Linked DNA regions of Homo sapiens: regions 1, 2 and 3 are each linked to region 4. The links are contacts of gene promoters, found by promoter capture Hi-C in blood cells and fetal thymus (Javierre and others, 2016). All regions are on one chromosome and are shown on one strand. Each heading gives the region's core, a stretch centred on a gene start or on the middle of the fragment in contact. The rest is flanking DNA. Distances are from core to core; before and after follow the strand shown.

Evidence for each region. The method cuts DNA at HindIII sites, captures the fragments that hold promoters and counts their contacts. A CHiCAGO score of 5 or more calls a contact.
Region 1: a contact is called between a fragment that was not itself captured here and the fragment with the promoter of DGKH in region 4, in 3 of 17 cell types (M0 macrophages, M1 macrophages and M2 macrophages). The highest score is 5.7, in M0 macrophages.
Region 2: a contact is called between a fragment that was not itself captured here and the fragment with the promoter of DGKH in region 4, in 1 of 17 cell types (M1 macrophages). The highest score is 6.0, in M1 macrophages.
Region 3: a contact is called between a fragment that was not itself captured here and the fragment with the promoter of DGKH in region 4, in 2 of 17 cell types (M1 macrophages and M0 macrophages). The highest score is 6.8, in M1 macrophages.

The regions. Positions count from the first base shown.
Region 1 is chr13:41,810,863-41,814,174 of GRCh38, reverse strand. It overlaps VWA8 (von Willebrand factor A domain containing 8), which reads left to right. Exons shown (of 45, transcript NM_015058.2): 17 at 2,835-2,950. Among named protein-coding and RNA genes, the nearest start is that of VWA8, 150 kb to the left of the region's middle. RefSeq lists an enhancer at 1,214-1,263. The HindIII fragment of the contact is 2,010 bases long and covers 443-2,452 here.
Region 2 is chr13:41,891,120-41,894,627 of GRCh38, reverse strand. It overlaps VWA8 (von Willebrand factor A domain containing 8), which reads left to right. Exons shown (of 45, transcript NM_015058.2): 5 at 3,041-3,208. Among named protein-coding and RNA genes, the nearest start is that of VWA8, 68 kb to the left of the region's middle. The HindIII fragment of the contact is 1,246 bases long and covers 1,404-2,649 here.
Region 3 is chr13:41,866,461-41,869,939 of GRCh38, reverse strand. It overlaps VWA8 (von Willebrand factor A domain containing 8), which reads left to right. Exons shown (of 45, transcript NM_015058.2): 10 at 1,463-1,594. Among named protein-coding and RNA genes, the nearest start is that of VWA8, 93 kb to the left of the region's middle. The HindIII fragment of the contact is 1,112 bases long and covers 1,553-2,664 here.
Region 4 is chr13:42,047,016-42,050,168 of GRCh38, reverse strand. DGKH (diacylglycerol kinase eta) reads right to left here and starts at 1,521. Exons shown (of 30, transcript NM_178009.5): 1 at 1,204-1,521. The coding sequence starts at 1,395. RefSeq lists a silencer at 1,215-1,744 and an enhancer at 2,285-2,374. The HindIII fragment of the contact is 8,345 bases long and covers 405-3,153 here.

The DNA.
Region 1 (3,312 bases), core at 198-2,697, 240 kb after region 4:
AGACACTTAAATCTTTGGTGAATTAATGAATAAATTGATTAATTAAAATTTTATTAACAGATTGTCCCTAGAGTTTTCTCTCCTTTAGAACATGCTACATTTTCATTCTTTTATAAAAATGAAGAATAGAAAAATAATGTTTAATAATTTCTGATGAGAACCTTTATGTTTTTAAGCTGAAGTATTACTAATCATGTTAATATGAACAACCCCTTCGAGGTGTACTCTTAAACTGTATAACCATGGTAACTAGGGGAATGTGCTTCATATCTTCACCGCCCCCCTTTTTTTTTGCAAGATAAAACTGCAGTTAGAAATTTGATATAAATGTTAAATACATTAGGAATTTTTAAAGTATACTCTCAATTTTTAATTGATAATAATGTGAGAGCAGAGATTACCAAACCCTTTATTCAACACTTAAATGGCTCAACACAAAGCTTATCTCTCATTTTCTCAACCCTGGTTATTACTGCAAAGCATTTTGGTGCTTTCAACTAGAAGAACTGGAGAATTGGTGTTCAAATATATGAGCATTCCTTATTGATGACTGGAATGAAATGTGAAGCCTGAATTCAGTGTCATGCTTAGAATGAGATTAGAATGTTATACCCTATGGTTTAACAGGACTCTTATAAGAATCCTCTGGTTAGAGTCATTTGTCAAATATTTTTTATGATTAAAATATGAATTTTTCATGGTCCTAGGTATTAAAAATGGGAATTTCTGAGTTATATTTGACTTTTGATATCAGTCACATTGCCTGAATTTTATCCTCAATACATGTTTCTTTCTCATAGCAAGTCAGTTGCCAAGTTTGTTGTATCCTACCTCTCCATTCTTGTTGCCATAACCTTACTGTAGGACTTTTTCCTTTTATAGGCAGATTATTGAAGTAGCTTTCTGTTTCCTGTCTCAGTTCTCTCTGTCCTTCATCCACTTTCTATGCTGCTGCTGATTTAAATTAGGAAGTAGGCTAGTAATAACCTGATTTGAAAATCATGTTACGACTTTACACATAGCAGAATCCTAGTGCCTTTAAGAATAAAGCCAAACCCGTCAGAGTGTCATTCATAGGTCTTTGTTGTTTGAGAGCAAGCCTTCCAGCAGGACCTTCTAGTAAAGCTGGTCTCATTTCCTCATGTTCTACTTGTGGTTCCATTACTTTTGCTTTCATGCCTTTGATGAGAGGATTTCTCATGCCCATTTGAATATTTTAACTGCCTATAACAGCTGTCTACTGTTCCACTTATTTTAGCATTGAAGTATATACTATTTTGAATTGTAATTTATGATTTATTATATTTGAATATTGTCTCCATATCTGGAATGCAAATTAATTGAAAACAAGAATGGACCAATGTCTGCTTGTAATTGAGTTCTTTGAAACTTAGAATGTGTTTTTTAATAGAAGAAAGGATATGTGGTGGTCATGCTTCCAACCTAATTCCCAAAGGAAATATAATACTAATGTTGTAGCTGAGATAGAATACTAACAGCAAACCAATATCTTATGGAGATGTGAAATACACAAGGAAGGATAAATAAATTATTTTTTTCTTCTTTGGGACATACGGAGATGACCTTAGGTGGAACATTAAAACAAGCAAATGTGCAGTGTGTCTTTGACATTCTCCCCTCATCCATTCTGAACCCTTTGTTAATTTCATAGAGTCCTCTTTTCTAGGCCCTTGAGTTCTCAGGGCCACTTTACTGCCCTTATCACCCTCTGTGACATTTCATACTGACCTGCCTTGCCCTCCCAAAGGTCCAGTTGCTTCAAAAGTGCTTCTGTCCTGTGGTTTTCAGTGATAATCACTGTCTTCTAATGCTGCTGATCTAAGTTAGGAATTAGGCCAGTAATAATCTCATTTACTAAATATATGCTAATATGTAGGTCCCATCACCTTTCTCTGCTGGGTTTTTTGTTTTCATTTTGAAGAGGCTGATTTTTAAATAACAGTTGTTGCCATTCGTTGAGCACCCATATGTGTGTGACATGTGCTAAGCACTTTAGAATCATTTTCTAATTTAACCTTCATAACAACCTTAAAGGTGAGGGCATTACTATTGCCATTTTAAAGTTGAGGGAACTGAGCCTTGGAAAGGTTAAGTAATTTGCCAAGGTAACACAGCTAATAAATAGGATACCGACTTATCTGATTCAAAAGCCTATAAACTTTACCATTATGTTATGCTGCCTGCCAAAAGAATTTCAACAAATATTTATTGAGTACTGACCATGTCCTGAGTTCTGTACTAGCAACTCTATTCGTGGAATTTTGGGAAATGTAATATAGCAAAGTGAAAGTATTCTGACAGCATAGGGGAAGGATTCAAAACAGCAAGCTGCAGCACAAGTGACAAATTGGTTGACACCTCTGTGGCCAACAGCCTAAATTGTTTACAACTCTTTTTGGCTATTTTAGAAACCACCGATTTGCTTAAAGCTTTAAACATTTCCGTGGTATCTTAACACCTTGGCTTTGTGTAAGGAGAAAAAGTGAACAGTCAATCATACAGCCTAAGTCCAGTGTGACCTTTGTTATGTAACATCCTTCCCCCATTGCCCCTCCCATCTCCAACTTAGCACAATTAAAATACATTAATTAAATTTAATTGATAAATACTTTAGATTTTTTAAAAACTATCTTCAAGGATGTTTTAAGTGTAAATTGGTTTCTGTTTATTTTGATTTGTAATTAATTAACAGCACATACTTTAAGTTTGGCCTTACCCCTTCAGTAATAATGAATTCTGCTGTGATATCCATCTAAAGGGACTTTAGCAAGTTGAAACAAGACTCTTAACACAATGTATTTGTCTTTTGATAGGCACAATCATTAGCGGCATCACTTTCTACCAGACAACTGTTGCGAATTTCTCGTCGGCTGTCACAGTATCCTAATGAAAATCTTCACAGTGCTGTTACTAAAGCCTGCCTTTCCAGGTAAACATATTCTTTCTCACTGCGTGTAAGTTTCTGGATCTTCACTAAAACTATAAGATAAGTTTAACTGATGGTGCATATTCCCAATTCTTCAAAATATATTGGTCTGAATGTAGAGCTATTTCAGCCTTGCCTTCACTGATTAGAACTTATTTAATACAACATATTATCTTTTAAAATTAATTTTTGGTCCCAGCATCACCAGAAGCAGATGTTGGTACTATGCTTCCTGTACAGCCTGCAGAACCATGAGCCAAAATAAAACCTCTTTTATTTATTAAAAATAAAATAAAATAAAATAAATTTTTATCCTTAATTTGTATGGGTACATGGTCAGTATATATTTATGGGGTACATGAGAT
Region 2 (3,508 bases), core at 777-3,276, 160 kb after region 4:
TAATATACTTAGCCACTAATTTTACCATCCATTTTGGATTCTTGACTGCAGCAGTTACTACTGTGGTGTTTGCGAAATTGATCATTTTCTATTTCTATCATTCGTTAGTAGTAGAGATTCTTAAATTGAGGTCTCTGCTCTATACATATACCTGCATGCATTTGACTGTGGAGAAAAGTTGCAGCATTGACCAGATTTTCAAGAGATCATTAAATTGTGTTATCCTTTTTCCATCTATCCCTACTTTTTCAACTTTGTGGTCACAGTACTGCCATTAGAGTAGATGGAAAAAAAACCTTGTGTATTTAGCTTCTGTTTTTGATCTCTCTGCATAGCTTGTTCTGAATTCCTTTGAAGAGATTCAATGCATAGCAGACCACAGTACACCTGAGGTGAATGAAAGTGGAGCTGCAGTGTTTGTTGTTGTCCTATGTTGTCAAGACTTTGCTTTTTGTGGCCCATAGATGGTGAACCATTACATTTTGATCTGTATATTTCTAGTTTTATCTCAAAGAATGTGGGTTTTCATCCCTATGGAGTTTTTAAAAAGTCAAATGCAATATTTAGTCTGTCGTATAAGAAAGATTGCTAAAAGTTTTAGATTTCTTAAAATAATATTACCCTAGATTATGATAACAATTAATTTCTTTTTTGTTCTGAGCTGTGCTTTCTTGAAGTAAATATATTTTTGCGAGCAAAAGCTTAATTGAAACCTTAACTGAAATGTGAATTTTTATAAGAAGTAGTTTGTATTCTTGCTCTGTCGCCCAGGCTGGAGTGTAGGGGTGCGATCTTGGCTCATTGCAACCTCTGCCTCCTGGGTTCAAGTCATTCTCCTGCCTCAGCCTCCCACGTAGCTAGGATTACAGGCGCCCGCCACCACACTTGGCTAATTTTTGTATTTCTAGTAGAGACGGGGTTTCACAATATTGGCCAGGCTGGTCTTGAACTTCTGACCTTGTGATCCACCCTCCTCAGCCTCCCAAAATGCTGAGATTATAGGCATGAGCCACTGAGCCCGGCCAATATTTTGACTTTTAATATCCCAGAATCTATTTCTACGACTTTGTCCTTTATACAGCTAGCAAAAATGAGATTCTTTTTTTTGTTGTTGTTCTTTAGAAACTACTAAGTCACTTCTACCCATGCTTTTTTTTTTTTTTTTAAATAAAGCTTCTAGAACAAGATGGCTACTCTGGTAGAAGAGAATTAAAATATTGCAGTAATGATATATTTGAGGGATTATTCATGAAATGATCTTAAAATGGATGATTCTCTTGAGTCTAATATGGCTTTCATAAAGTTTATCATTTTACAACATTATGTAGACACTTGAAATAAACTAAGCTCTACTATACAGTGCAAAATTCAACAGTGTATTAAAAGAGGATAGTATGCAAGCTTGATTAAGCAATGCCTCTTTTCTACACTTGGAAAATCAGTACATTGCTACTCCAGAAATTTATTTGGATATTAAGTCTTAAAAAAATAGAGATATGTTTTCCCCTCATCAAACATTTAGATCCTTTTTTTGGACAATTACTATAGGGAAAATTAAATTTTAAGTGAGGGGTCAGTATAAGTAAAGACATTTTTCTGGTAAAGCAGTATGGTATGTACATGTGTAGAAGGAGATAACCAGTTTATTGTCACAGAAATACCACATGTGAGGCAACTAATATCAGGAGATGGTGTTGGAGAGGTAGGTAGATGCTGCATTGTGATAGGCTAATATGCCAAATTAAGGAGCTTGGACTATTGGGAGGTGATCTGAGAGGTAAGGAGAGCTTGAACTAGGGAAGGGGTAGAAAGGGATGAGTTCAAGAAACATCAAGGGCTCTGACCTGGGTCAATGGTGCTCACACCCCAGATAGAAAATAAAGAAGAGAAGCAGGTTTGGAGAAAATAGGATATTTTCAGTTTTGTACAAGGGACCTGAGGTGCTCATGGGGTCTGAGGGACCCCATATGAGGTACTAATGAGGGGGAGTTTCAGAACCCCAAGATTCTGGGGGGTCATTAGCATAAAGGTGGTAGTTGGAACTATGTGATTGAATAAGATTTTCAGGGAGGTCCTAGTAGGGTAAGAAGAGCTGTGTGTTAAGGATGTAATTCTGGCCATCATCTACATTTAATGGACAGGCACAGAAGACAAAACAATTTTCCTAGGACAATGCAGTGCCATGGAGACTAATGAAGGCGAGTTTTAAGGGAGGGAATAACAGTATAAATTTAGCACCATTAATCCTCTGTCTGTGGTTGAATGTGCAGAAGAAACATGACAGGTTTTCCTTTTTTAGCAGAACATGAAGGATTTTGACAAAAAGTAGTTTTCTATGTTATTAAGGACCTATAGTTAAAGGAAAATATTTTTTTCATATCTATAGTAATTTTTTTGTATTACAGTTTACTTTATTTCCTAATTTTCTCCATTACTAATTTTCTTAAAATTTATTGGAAGACTTGTAGTACTGGTTAAGTCAGTCTGCTATTGGCCAATGTAAAATCTGATTCTTTTTCTGTTTCTAAGTGTGTAATGTTGTCAGCATCATCACACAAAACCTCAATTTATTTGGATGATGACTTATGTTTACAAATGTTACAGTCTCCAAGCCTTCTCACCTAGCTTTTTTGATCCTTACAAGAAGCTTGTGGGATAGGTAGGGCAGATAACTGTCTTCATTTTTCTTTTCCAGTTGTGGAATCTGTGCCCTTGTTTAATTATGTTCCTTGTTCATAGATAGCTGTTAGTTTTTTATTTCATTGGGTATATAATCTAAAATATCAAGGCTGAAAGGAACTTCAGCGATCCTCTTTTTTCAATCCCTTTATTTTACAAACGAATAAACAGGCCCAAAGAGGTAAAATCACTTTCCTAAGATCATATAGGCAGAAAAAGCAAAACAAGATCTGGAACTCAGCTTTATTGATTTCTGGTCCCTATAACAAGAACTGCAACTTAAATTTGAATTACAAGTAATGTTAGGCCAAGCTCTGCAACTTCAGTATTCTCATTTTGCTTTTACGTTTCTTGGAAATAGTGTGCAGTTCGTGCAGCCACAGAAGGCAGAACTCTCATTTTGGAAGGTTTGGAAAAGGCAGAGAGGAATGTTTTGCCTGTTTTGAACAACTTGCTGGAAAACAGAGAGATGCAGCTTGAAGATGGACGCTTCCTGATGTCTGCTGAGCGTTACGACAAACTTCTCCGAGTAAGAAAAGAAAATCCTGTTGCTTTGTCTTTGCTGTCAAGCTATGGGCAGTGCCATTTTATTGTGTAAGACATGGCTCTGTTGGAATCAGGACAGATGTTCAGATGGCCCTTATCTTGGGTAAATTGCTAGAGTCATGAATTTACAGCTTTACAACACTCTTCTGTTTTAGACTTTGTCAAAACACCTCCCAGATTTTTACTGTCTTTTTTTTTTTTGGTCAGTCTAATAACTATTCTCTTTTCCATTTTTTTTCCTATTTTTTCTTCTTCTCTTTCTTCCTCTTTTCCCATCTCCTTT
Region 3 (3,479 bases), core at 859-3,358, 180 kb after region 4:
AGTTTCAACTCTTTCACTATAGTAATAATGTTCCAAAACTAGTGTAGGATTTTGGGGGTTAATTTCTGCCTATTTAATAGTAAAAATAAATTCAGTTTTTTATATTGAGCATGCTGTTATAAATAAGGCATAGAACTTAATTTTCAATTTATTTTCATCTTTCACATACTTACCTGTATTCTTTCTGTGTAGTTTTGATATAGCTAGCTGGAATGAAGTGGTGTAGTCAATGTTAGAACGTTGATAATTGGGCCACATCAAGAATCAATGGTTCTAGCCTTTTTTTTTTTTTTTTTTTTTTTTTTTTTGAGACAAAGTTTTCGCTCTGTTGCCCAGGCTGGAGTGCAGTGGCACAATCTCAGTTCACTGCAACCTCTGTCTCTGGGTTCAAGGGATTCTCGTGCCTCAGCCTCCCAAGTAGCTGGGACTACAGGTGCGTGCCACCATGCCCAGCTAATTTTTGTATTTTTAGTAGACAGGGTTTCACCATGTTGGCCAGGCTCGTGTCGAACTCCTGACCTCAGGTGATCCGCTTGCCTTGGCGTCCCAAAGTGCTGGGATTACAGGCATGAGCTACTGTGCCTGGTGGTTCTAGCCTTTTAAATCCAGTTCAACAAATATTGAGACCCCTATAGTGTAGAAAGCACTGTACCATATGCTGTGGAAAATTGTTATAATAATTTTAGTTAAGCTATTCACATAGCTGACAGCAGAATGATGGCCAAGAAGTTCTGTTTTCATGAATTTCAGGTAACACATTAACTTCGATTGATTTAAAGAATAAACCAATATGGGCCTATTTCAGCATATTTTGAAGGGTCTCATCATCTCCTTCTAGGAAGTTGATTGTCAAGAAATGTAAACTATGAACTTCTACCAGGTCAGGAATTCAGTGATTCCATTTCTTGTCATTTAGTAAATTTTAGGGACTATTTTAATATGATCTTTAATAATTATTGTAAGTAGAATGGTATTAGTAGGAATAGAAAAAAATTTTCGTTAACTTTTTTTAACCTCTACTTTTTTTTTTTCCTTTTTTTTTTTTTTTTTTTGAGACGGAGTCTTGCCGTTTTGCCCATGCTGGAGTGCAGTGGCGCGATCTCGGCTCACTGCAAGCTCCACCTCCCGGGTTCACGCCATTCTCTTGCCTCAGCCTCCCGAGTAGCTGGTACTACAGGTGCCCGCCACCACGCCCAGCTAATTTTTTTTCTATTTTTTAGTAGAGACGGGGTTTCACCGTGTTAGCCAGGATGGTCTCGATCTCCTGACCCTCTGATCCGCCCGCCTTGGCCTCCCAAAGTTCTGGGATTAACAGGCCTGAGCCACCGCCCTTGGCCTAACCTCTACTTTTATATAATAATATAAAATGGATTTCACTTGTAATTAAGGTGTAATCTGTCAGATAGCCAATGTTAATGCTAAAATGAAAAGTAAATTGCATGATTTTCTTGTAATTTTACAGCGCTTTGAACTTCAAGATTCAGGAAGCTCTCTACTTCCTAAAGAGATTGTAAAAGTAGAGAAGATGATGGAAAACCATGTGTCCCAAGCTTCTGTGACCATCCGGATTGCAGATAAAGAGGTGACCATTAAGGTAATTAATCACAGGTTTATTCTTTCTATGATATACCTTATTCTGCCTGTTTTTATGACCTAAATTGGGTTTATGATCTCCTTGTAAGTCTTCTCTCTTGATAGTACTGCTTCTGTCGGTATCTATATGTCTATGTCTCCAGAGTCATGTGTGCTTATAAACTGGAAAAGTTCAGGAGAAACATAGGGAAAGCCTTTCATCAAAAATTCAAAGTTGACCTGTGGGAAAATCAAGTCACAGGCTGATTACTGACAGCATTTTGTGCTATGAGTCCTTGGTAAGAAATAGTGTTTTCAAACATTTGAGCTGCTACAGAGACCTATTTTCAAGTAAAATCTTTCTTAGCTATGTGAAACGGTTTAAAAAGGATCTGCTCTGGTTGAATTGTTTTTAGAGAGGGAAATAATATTTGGTCATAGAGCTCCATCTGCATGTATATATGTTATATATATATCAGCTCCTTCTATATATATCTATATGTGTATATATACACACATTTTATGGAGTCTTACTATATTGCCCAGGCTTGTTTTGAATTCCTGAGCTCAAACAATACTCCTGCCTTAGCCTCCTGAGTAGCTGGGACTACAGGCACATGCCACTGTGCCCAGCTCATGATAAACTTTTTTGTTTTAATATTTGATATTATTAATATTAATTCATGTTACTGTACTTATTCATTGAACTGAATATTGATTATATCCACCATGAGCTAGGTTCCATATTATGAGTTTACTGTGTACTATTTACTGTATTTGTCTCTGCATATATTACACGATTTAAATCCCGCAAGATCCATTAAGGTAAGTTTTATTATCTCCATTTTGTAGATTAGAAAACTGAGATGTAAAGAGGTTAATGATTCACCCAGAGACAGCAGCTAGGAGATGGCACAGCTGGGATTTCTAGACAGGGACAGTTCCCCACTATACTCTCTGTTTTGTTCAGATGAATGGTTCATCTAGCTGATAGTTTAGGATAGAGGCAGACGAGTTAAGACTGCATTGGAATGACTGGGGATATGGAGAAGAAAGTAATACTGGGATTCAGGAGACGGAATAGGGAAAGCTTCAGAGAGAAGATGAAGCTTGAGCTAAGCCTGCAAGAATAATATAGGATTTTTCAAGTGGCTCAGGAGTGGATAGAACATTTTTGGCAGTTTAAACAATATGTTCAGAAGCATGAGGTATGAACAAGACTTCATTATTTGCTTCCCTTTGGTAATGGCTTTTTAACCTCATTGCCTCTAGTCTCTTCCAGTTAGCTTTCCATGTTGATACCAGGTTAAATTCTTAAATGCAAATCTGATCCTGTCACTTCCAAACTTAGAATTCTTTGGTTCGTGTGGTATATAACATGATCCAGCCCAGAGTCCTCATCAGAACATGGCTCCTTGGGAACTAATAGTGGAGGATAAATAATAAAAGGGGAAGACAAAAAATAAAATGAGAAGTAGATGTAAAAGATGGGAAGAGAGAATATGTGAACAGATGCCTCTCAGTGGTAAACTAAGATAAACCTGAAAAGGATTTGTGGACTTGACTTTTAGAAATCAGGAGGTCATTGGTGACTTTAGAGATTCCAGTGGACTAACATTAAATTCTGTGCTTACAACTAGAATTTTGGGAAAAAAATTTATTCTCCAGTAGTAATATCTTTACTATAAGTTATAAATAGCATTAAGATGACATGATTTTTATGAATACATCTGATAATGTGGGACTTTAATTTTAGGGAAATAATTGATTTGGAAGATTTGTAATAATGATCATCAGATCTATTAAATGAAAAAATAGTTGCTGCTCTATTGAAATATCAAAAACAGTAAAGAATTAAATTGAGCAAGCTATTAGTTGGAGGCTTTTAAGTGGCAGTTATATACTTT
Region 4 (3,153 bases), core at 272-2,771:
GAACTCCTGGCCTCAAGTGATCTGCCTGCCTTGGCCTCCCAAAGTGCTGGGATTACAGGCATGAGCCACCGTTACCGGCCTCCACAGGCACTGAATAAAAATTATGTTTCCAAATAGGAGTTCATTGACCTTAGGGAAAATTTTTCATAAAAATAACTGTAGAATGAATTTTTTGCAAATTTATTTTTAAAAACGGTACCCCAAGCCAATGATTTTGTGGTTCCGTTTTCAATATCCTCGTTAAATTTCCCTACTGATAACAGACTCTCTCTGTGAAGATTTTTAAATTACAATGAAAATTAGAATACATAAAAATCCTTTAATATCCATAAGCATTTGCTTTGGTATGTTCATGATCAAATTAAAAATTAACTTTGAGACCTCACAGGTCGACAGCACAAGCTTCATTAACAAGAGTAACACACCATCCTAATGTCCACACAGCACAGAGGTAACTTCTCATTATTAAAAAGAACCATGGACGCATGGTTCTGAACCCTGCCTGCACTTGGCGGGAACCTGCGACACGAAAGCCTGGCCAGCCCTTGGAGCCATGCAGGGTGCGGTTAAGCCGCGAACACCATGTCCCACTTGCCTGCCTCGGGGCTTCTGCCTTCCAGACCGCAGCAGGAGGCAGAGGGGCAGGAAAGGCTGACCGGTGTCACCTTCCACCCACCCTCTGAGTGGGCCTAAGTGGGAAAGCAGCAGGGCTCACTGCAGCGCAGGCTGGTTGGCCAGCACATGCGCACGCTCCCCCGAACGGCAGGGAAGAAAAATTGAAACTCTCCTTTTAAGTTCCCTAAGTAGGAACTCGCGACTGCGCGTCAGCTTTTTCCCACGCTCCCGCCGAGCCGCGGGTTCCCTGCACCCGCCTCTGCCAGTCGAACTCCCTGGGAGCCCAGGCTCGCAGCCTCCCGCGCAGCCGCCGGGAATCCGTCCCGCAGCACCGCGGTCCAGCGCCCCCGGGCCCCGCCCCACCCCTCCCCGCCCCGCCCGCGCCCCAGGCCCCGCCCCGCCTCACCGTCTCACCATCCCCGCCTTCCCCGCCTTCCCCGCCTTCCCCGCCTTCCCCGCCTTCCCCGCCTTCCCCGCCTTCCCCGCCTTCCCCGCCTTCCCGGGATCGCCCGGCGCGTTCCAGCGCCCCCGCGCCCTCTCCACCTCCCGCTTTCCACGCGGCCCTCAGGCCCGCCTCCTCCGCCCTACCTTGGTCCGGATCTGCCCCGAGGTAGACACTTTGCGGATCAGTTTCTGGGGTCCCTCTTGCTCCGCTTCGCTGTCAGACGAATCCTCTCCCGGCCCCGCCGAGGCAGCGGCGGAGGTGACCGCGGCGCCGGCTCCGGCGGCCGCTCCTCCAGCGGCGCCCGGAGGGTGGTGCTGGCCTCCGGCCCCTGCCATCCTCTCCGACTCCTGCGGGGACACAGCACCGCCCGGCGGGGGCGGCGGCGTTGGTCAGCGGGTGGGCTCTGCCCGAGCGGAGCCCGGAACCCCGTGCCCGGCCGCCGCCGCCATCTTCCGTTTCCCTAGCTACCCCCGCGAGGTAAGGGTCGCCCGGGGCAGGCGCCCTCCAGGCAGGGGTCCACCCGGCTCCTCCGCTCGGTTCCCGCCGGAGCGGCGGCCACGGTGGGACGCAGAGGTAACGGACCCCCGCCCGCCTCGGACCCCTGCGCACCCAGCCTCGGATAGGACCAGCGCGGGTAGAGAGGATGGGGTGACAGGGTTTGGAGCAACATCTCTTCCACTCCCTTACGGTCTGGGTCCCTAGGATGGACAGGAGGGTGGGGGAGGCAGGAAACCTCTGCAGCCCACCCCGTAGTGGCGATGCCCGCACACCCCCTCTCACTTCTGGACAGCAGGGGCAACGCCGATCCCTGGGGAAGAATGGGAACCTGGAGCTTCCTCCCAGCACCCTTGGGTGCACCCGCCACCTCCTGAACCCCGAATCTCTCCAGAGACACTTGGGCCTCGCCGCGCGGTTCCAGCTGAATAAAAGTCCCCTCTGCCACCAAGACAGTCGGGGGCTGCCCCTCGTCGGTTTCCCCACCCCCAGCCCCACTCCGAGGACCGTACCTCTCCCGCCTCCGCCAGGGCCGTCGGGTCCCCTCAGCTCTCCTGACGGCGGCGTTCAGTTTCTGGCCCACCCCCACCCCCATCCGGCGCACACGGAAGAGAAGAGCATTTTCCGGGAGGTTCAGCTCCGCTCTGAGAACTTTTCGTTCAGAAAGAGCGATCCCCTTCGGCTAACAGGAAACTGGGAAGGGCGTGGAGAAAGCGCAGAAACAAGAGACTACACGCAGCCCAAGACGACAGAACGCACAAGAAGTGTCTAAGCTGAAGCGCTAACCGAGATTGCCTGGAAGAAAACAATACACTCGAGCCATGCGAACACCAGTACCCGAGACAAAAAGCCTTGGAAGTCCTGGCAGAGCCACTCCCTAGCCCGGACTAGAGCAGGAGGAAGTGGGATCAACAGGCTGTAGCCACCGCGCACAACTCCCCTGCAAGCTGGCTGCGCGGGCACTTGGGAACCGCGGACTGGCAGCGGGTTGTGCACGCTCAACGTCAAAGAAGCCTCACAGGTGTGAGGGGGCTGCGGTGAGGGGGCTGCGAGAGAAGACATTAAAACGACAGATCCCTCTTGTCATCCAAAGAGAACACCAAACTGGTGTTAGCTATATTTTTAAATAGGACAAAAAGTCCCTGCCAGACTGTGGAGTCTCTCCACCTGGAGAAAGCATTCAATCTCTGTTATGTTCATGCCTTTCAGTACCATTCCTTTCGTATTTTTTCAGTTGACATGACCTTTAAGGTTCCTCCAAACTAAGGTTCTAATTTTTTTTTTTAACTTGCAGTCTTACTCCCAACAAGAAATTTGATATATTAGAGCTAACAGTTCTAAGAAGTTTTAAGAAATAGTATGCAATCCCAATACTGGACATCACACTGTAAATTAAATTCATTAAAATGTAAAATGTGTTTAGTTCAAATATTTAAAGACAGGAGACTGCTGCTATGTAATAATAACAGAGAGGCTATTTCTGCAGCTTCTGTTGTCTCCTTTAGGAAAGGAAGGAGTTGGGCAAAATGAATTTTAAGAACGCTTAGAACTCTACAAATATGTAATTCTTTATCTACAAAGAACATATTTCTGGAAAT